Linked DNA regions of Homo sapiens: region 1 is linked to region 2. Evidence: promoter capture Hi-C in 16 types of primary human blood cells and fetal thymus (Javierre and others, 2016). All regions are on one chromosome and are shown on one strand. Each heading gives the region's core, a stretch centred on a gene start or on the middle of the fragment in contact. The rest is flanking DNA. Distances are from core to core; before and after follow the strand shown.

Region 1 (2,819 bases), core at 62-2,561, 270 kb before region 2:
TTCTGGATGATTTATCCATTGTTGAAAATTGGATATTAAAGTTCTCTATTAATATTGCATTGCAGTCTATCTCTTGCTTTAGATTTGTTAATATTTGCTTTATATATTTAGGTGCTCTGATGTTGGGTGTATTCATATTTATAACTGTTCTATTATCTCAATGAATTGACTTTCTTATCAATATCTAATGACCTTCTTTGTCTCTTGTGACAGTATTTAAAGTCTATTTTGTCTGATACACATGTAACTGCTACTGCTCTTTTTTGATTTTCATTTTCATGGAATATTTTTGTTTTTTACCCCTTTACTTTTAGTCTGTGTGTGTTATTAAAGGTGAAGTGAGTTTCTTGTAGGCAGCATTAAGTTGGATTTTATTTTTATAAATCAATTCAGCCACTCTTTGTCTTTTGATTAACAAAATTTGCTTATTTATAGTTGGTAAGTAAAGATTTATTATTGTCAATTTATTAATTGTTTTCTGGTTGCTTTGTAGATCCTTTATCCCTTTATTACTCCTTTGTTGTTTTCCTTTGTGATTTGATCATTTTATTTGGTGGTATGCTTTGATTCTTTTCTGTTTATCTTTTGTGTATTTACTATAGATTTTTAATTTGTGGTTGCCATGAGGCTTACATAAATATTCTTATTGTTTAACCAATTCATTTAAAGACGATAACATCTTAACTTTGATTGCTAAAGAAGCTCTGTACTTTTACTTCCCTTCTCTTACATTGTGCTTTTGATGTTACAGTTTACATTTTTTGTATGTCTTAAGAATTTATTATAGCTATAGTCATTTTGCATACATTCATCTTATAACTTTATAATGATGGTGTGATTCACACCACCACCATTATAGTGTTTGAATATTCTAAATTTAACCATATATATACTTTACCAGTTAGTTTTACATTTTTGTATGTTTTAATGTTACTAATTAGCTGCCTTTTATTTAATCTTAAAAATCCCCCTTTAGCATTTCTTGTAAGGCAAGCAATAGTGAAGACTCACTCAACTTTTTTTGTTTTTCTAAAAAAGTCTTTATCTTCTTCATTTCTGAAGGACAGCTTTGCTGGCAAAATATTGCTGGTTGGCAGTTTTATTTTTCTTCCATCACTTTGAATATATTATTTCATTCTCTCCTGATCCTCAAGGTTCCTGCTGAGAAATCCACTGATAGCTTTATTTGGGTCCTTTTTTATATGACATGATTCTTTTCTCTTGCTGCTTACAAGCTTCTCTGTTTTTGATTTTTGCCAGGCTGATGTTAACGTATGTTTGTGGATTCTTTTTTTGGTTGAATTGACTGGAGAACTTTAGGCTTCGTGCATGTGGATGCTCATTTCTTTCCGGATATTTGCTAAGTTTCCCATGATTATTTCCTTAAATAAGCTTTCTATCTAATGCTCTCTCTATTTTTCTTCTGAACCTACGATAATTCTAATGTTAGCTCTCTTGATAGTATTCCATGGCTTCTGTAGGTTTTATTCTTTTTTTTCTTTTATCTCCACTTACTGGATGATTTAAAATGCTCGGTCTTTGAGTTCACTTATTTTTTTATTCTGCTTCATTTAGTCTGATGTTCAAGCCTCTATTACATTTTTTTTTAGTTTAGCTGTTGTATTTTTCAGCTCCAACATTTCTGTTTGGTTCTTTTTAAAATATTTTCTCTCTTTATTGAGCTTCTCATTTTGTTCTTGGATTGTCTTCCTGATTTCATTAAACTATTTATTTGTGTTCTCTTGTAGTTCCCCAAGATTCCTTATGTAATTATTTTGATTTTTTCCAGGCAATTTATAGATCTCCAATTCTTTGGGGTTGGTTACTAGAAATTAATTTTGTTCCTTTGGTGGTGTCATGTTTTCCTGCTTCTTTGTGATCTTTGGGTGTTGATTTTGTCAGTGACTAAACCTGCTGGAGTCCTCTGTGGAGTTAAGTACTATAGTTTGCGCAGTGATCATTGTGGGTTCCTTGGTAGTGAAAGCAGTGTGGTATGTGCAGCTGATAATGGCAGGAGACAGACAGATTCCTAGGCAGACAGGTATAAGTCCCTGGTGAATCCCAACCTTCAAGCCAAAGACAACATGAAGCCTGAAAACCAAGCCACCAGTTCCAGGTGCAGTCCACGACCCAACTGAGAACTTCCTCAGTGCCTTTTAGTCAATTAAATGGTGCTTTTTCCAGGCCTGCCCATGAACCAGTCAGCACACATTCCTCCATTCTGAGCCCATAAAAACCCCAGACTCAGCCTCACAGATGGCTCTCTGCTTTCAGTCCCACTCTTACACAGAGGGCTACCCACTTTGGCTACTCTCTTGTTGTCATGAGTTTTTCTGCCGCTCAGTAAAAATCTCATCAGCCTTGCTCACTCTGCGGTGTCTATATGCTTCATTCCTGTTGGTTGTGGGACAAGAATCCGGAATCCACTGAACAGTGGGTGCGAAAAGAGTTGTAAGACACGCTCCTGTTCACCAAGCTACAGGAGTGAAAAAAAAAATGCTGGGTGCCACACGTCCCCAGTTGCTGAGCTGTGGGCAGCAGGACTGAATGAGCTGTGACATACCCCCATTTGCTGAAGCTGTCGGCAGTGAGAACGAACAAGAGCTGTAACACTTCCTGGGGGCTCAGACCTTGACTCCCAGAGGAAAAGCTGTAACACCTCTTTGGGCTCCACAGTTGCTGGCATCTCTGAGTTTTTGGGCACTGCTGCATCCCCCTTATCCAGATGTCGGTGTTCAAGGCAGAAGTCAGTCATAGCATGCCCAAAGCAACCATGGGCTGAGCACTGAGCTACAGTGGGTGTCATGGGATCTGGGTGA
Region 2 (2,988 bases), core at 439-2,938:
TCATGATGGTCATGTAATGGAGGGGTTTGCATATGGCAACATACCTGTCTATTGCCATGGCTACAAGCAACATCATCTCACTCCCACCCAGGAGGTGCATAAAGAACATCTGGGAATAACATCCCCACCATGAGATGGTCTTACGTTCTCGGAGGAAATCTACAATCATCTTAGGGGTAGCAAAAGAAGCCAGGATCATATCAATGCAGGAGAGGTTGCTAAGCAGAAAATACATTGGTGTGTGAAGGAGCGAATCAAAGGTCACAGTCACCAAGATGAGCAGGTTTCCTAACACAATCCCCACGAAGACCACAGAGAATCCCAAGAAGAATAAAATCTGAAGATTTTGAGATTTGGAAAGTCCCAACAAAATAAATTCCGATACCACTGAATGGTTTGCTCTTTCCATATCGTCAACTTTATCCCATAATGATCAAAATAAGTGAGAATAAGGGGTAGGGAAATGATGCATATTGGAAAGAAATGTTCATGTTGATGTCCACATTTGGTACTCAGTCAAGGCACTTGAACTTACAAGGACCCTTACTTTTGTGGAATTTTGTCAGTCAGTGATTTTACTAATGGCCCAGAGAAGTATCCCAAATAGTCAGTAGAATTCAGAATATAAGTTTCTGGAAGACAAAAATAAAAACATTAATAGTACATGAAACCACAAAACTATAGGTCATGAATTAGAATCAGAAGACCTCTACAGGACACCTGGGTAAGCTGCTCACTGGGTGACACAGGACAAGTAACTCTCCTTTTGAGGGTTTTCTTCTCAGTGAAAAAAAGAATTTGGACTATATGGTATCGAATGCCTCTTTCTGCTATAAAGATCTCTATGAATAAGATAATGATTCTGGTGAGTTTTATAGTCACAGAATAATATTGAGTTTTATTAATGTGGAAAGGATATCAAAAATACATCCAGGATTCTCAAGAACCATGTTTTGAAATGGACTCTGGTAAAGAAATATGAATTAGGTCCTGAGAAACTTACCTTATTTCCTCCATGCTCCATTCTTGCATGAATCCCTCACAGATCAGTATTAGCAGTAGTCACTACACACTTTTGAAGTGTCAAGTATATGTATAGTATATATATATTAAACATGTATATTACATACATTTCATATATTTATATATATTTATATAATTCGTTCATTCAACATTTCATATTATTCACATCAAATACCTCCTCTAGATGGTTAGACAATGTGTACAAACAACCCACAGTCAAATGTAATTGACTAATTTCACTTTCAGCTTGCATTCATTTATTCATTTACCTGGTTATTGCTATGTAGTGGTTAGCTGGTTGGCCTGTGTATGGTTGTCATAGGTTTCAAAATGACTTAGCTTGATGTAACATTTATGTTGGTAAAAGAAATACAGTTCTTTCAGTATAATCTAAATTTATGACAAAATTTGTCATCGGCTCATGCTTATTACAAACTGGTTCTATTGGTTCAGCTTTTAAAAAAATTGCCTCCGTTGCTAATAGTTTTAAATTAATCTAGGTCTTACAAAACACCTTCAGTAAATAAAGTATTTGTAGTCATCTTTTTGTGCTGTTATTACTTACAAGACAGGGGAAAAAAACTTTCGTGATGGCGTCGTACGTGAATCCCAGGAATGGCCTTTTATCTCCTTTTCCTGTATCCCCATCAGTTATCTGCAATTTACTCTTCCAATCATCAGAAACAGAAAAAATAGAGACCATAGTGCTATATGTTTCTATGAGATAATCCCATAGGAACACTTATCCAACTAGGGATGTATTTTTTTCCCTATGTAAACATATCTGTTGGCCAATTTCCCACTCTGAGAAACTTTGATGCAAAATATTAAATTTCATCAAATATGTAATTAGAGCCATTCATTTATATGTCTATAAAGGTAATAGCTCTCTTCAGTTTTATGACTAATATTTAAGAATTCCTACTAATGCTTCTTTTTGAAACCCAATTTTTGAAGCTGCATTTAAACAGAAGAGAACAATTTTCAAATACATACAAAGAAGTTTATAAATCCTCCACATCTGGAATAGTGCATATCAAAAACACTAAGTGAATATCTGTTGAATGAATAAACTATGTAGTGCATATTCAGGATCTAGATTAAGTCAGCTGACTTAATCCACAGAAAAATCCACAACATTAGGAATTTTAACAATATTTATTTTTAAATGTCAAATTGAATGTTGAAGTATTTTAAAATCAGAAATAGAACAGCCATTCTTAAAAAGCTGGTTAAAATATGTTTTTTTCTTTTAATTATCTTTTAAAAAAAAAGGTAGTTTATGCCAATGTGAAAAAAGCACATCACAGATAACAGAAAGACTGACTGAACATTTTAAGAGCTTCTTAGATAACTTTCCAGAAAAATAATACACACTTCAGTACAGTGTGTGTGTGTTAGTGTTACAGGTATTTATATTTATATCATTTTATTAAGACTGCAGATTATATATTATATGTATAGCTATTTTTCTTGAGTTTTTAACTTATTACATTTAAATATGTTTATATTAACATATAGAAACATAACTTTTTAATAGGTGTATAGAATTCCACTTTGTAGATGTTGCATAATGTAATCTCCCCACAAATACAGTTTATTCTTAGAATGAATTTAACATTACCTATAAAAATTATTTTTCATCATATCACTCTCTTCTTTATAAACCTGTGATAACTACCTTATCAATCCCTAACTTCTCCTGGATATTCATAATCAACTCCTCACCCACCCTAAAAATCCAATATTATTTTCTTTTTTTTTCTTTTTTTTTTTTTAATTATTATACTTTAAGATTTAGGGTACATGTGCACAATGTGCAGGTTAGTTACATATGTATACAAGTGCCCTGCTGGTGTGCTGTACCCACTAACTCGTCATCTAGCATTAGGTATCTCTCCCAATGCTATCCCTCCCCCCTTCCCCCACCCCACAACAGTCCCCAGAGTGTGACATTCCCCTTCC

Evidence for each region. Contacts are between HindIII fragments. The CHiCAGO score rates a contact against its expected background, and 5 or more counts as called.
Region 1: a fragment that was not itself captured here is called in contact with the fragment with the promoter of OR4K13 in region 2 in 6 of 17 cell types (M1 macrophages, non-activated CD4 T cells, M2 macrophages and 3 more); the score reaches 6.9 in M1 macrophages.

Annotation. Positions count from the first base shown.
Region 1 is chr14:19,768,889-19,771,707 of GRCh38, forward strand. No RefSeq gene overlaps it. Among named protein-coding and RNA genes, the nearest start is that of OR4M1, 3.2 kb to the right of the region's middle. The HindIII fragment of the contact is 157 bases long and covers 1,234-1,390 here.
Region 2 is chr14:20,034,350-20,037,337 of GRCh38, forward strand. OR4K13 (olfactory receptor family 4 subfamily K member 13) reads right to left here and starts at 1,689. Exons shown (of 2, transcript NM_001004714.2): 1 at 1,589-1,689; 2 at 1-632. The coding sequence starts at 409. The HindIII fragment of the contact is 9,053 bases long and covers 1-2,988 here.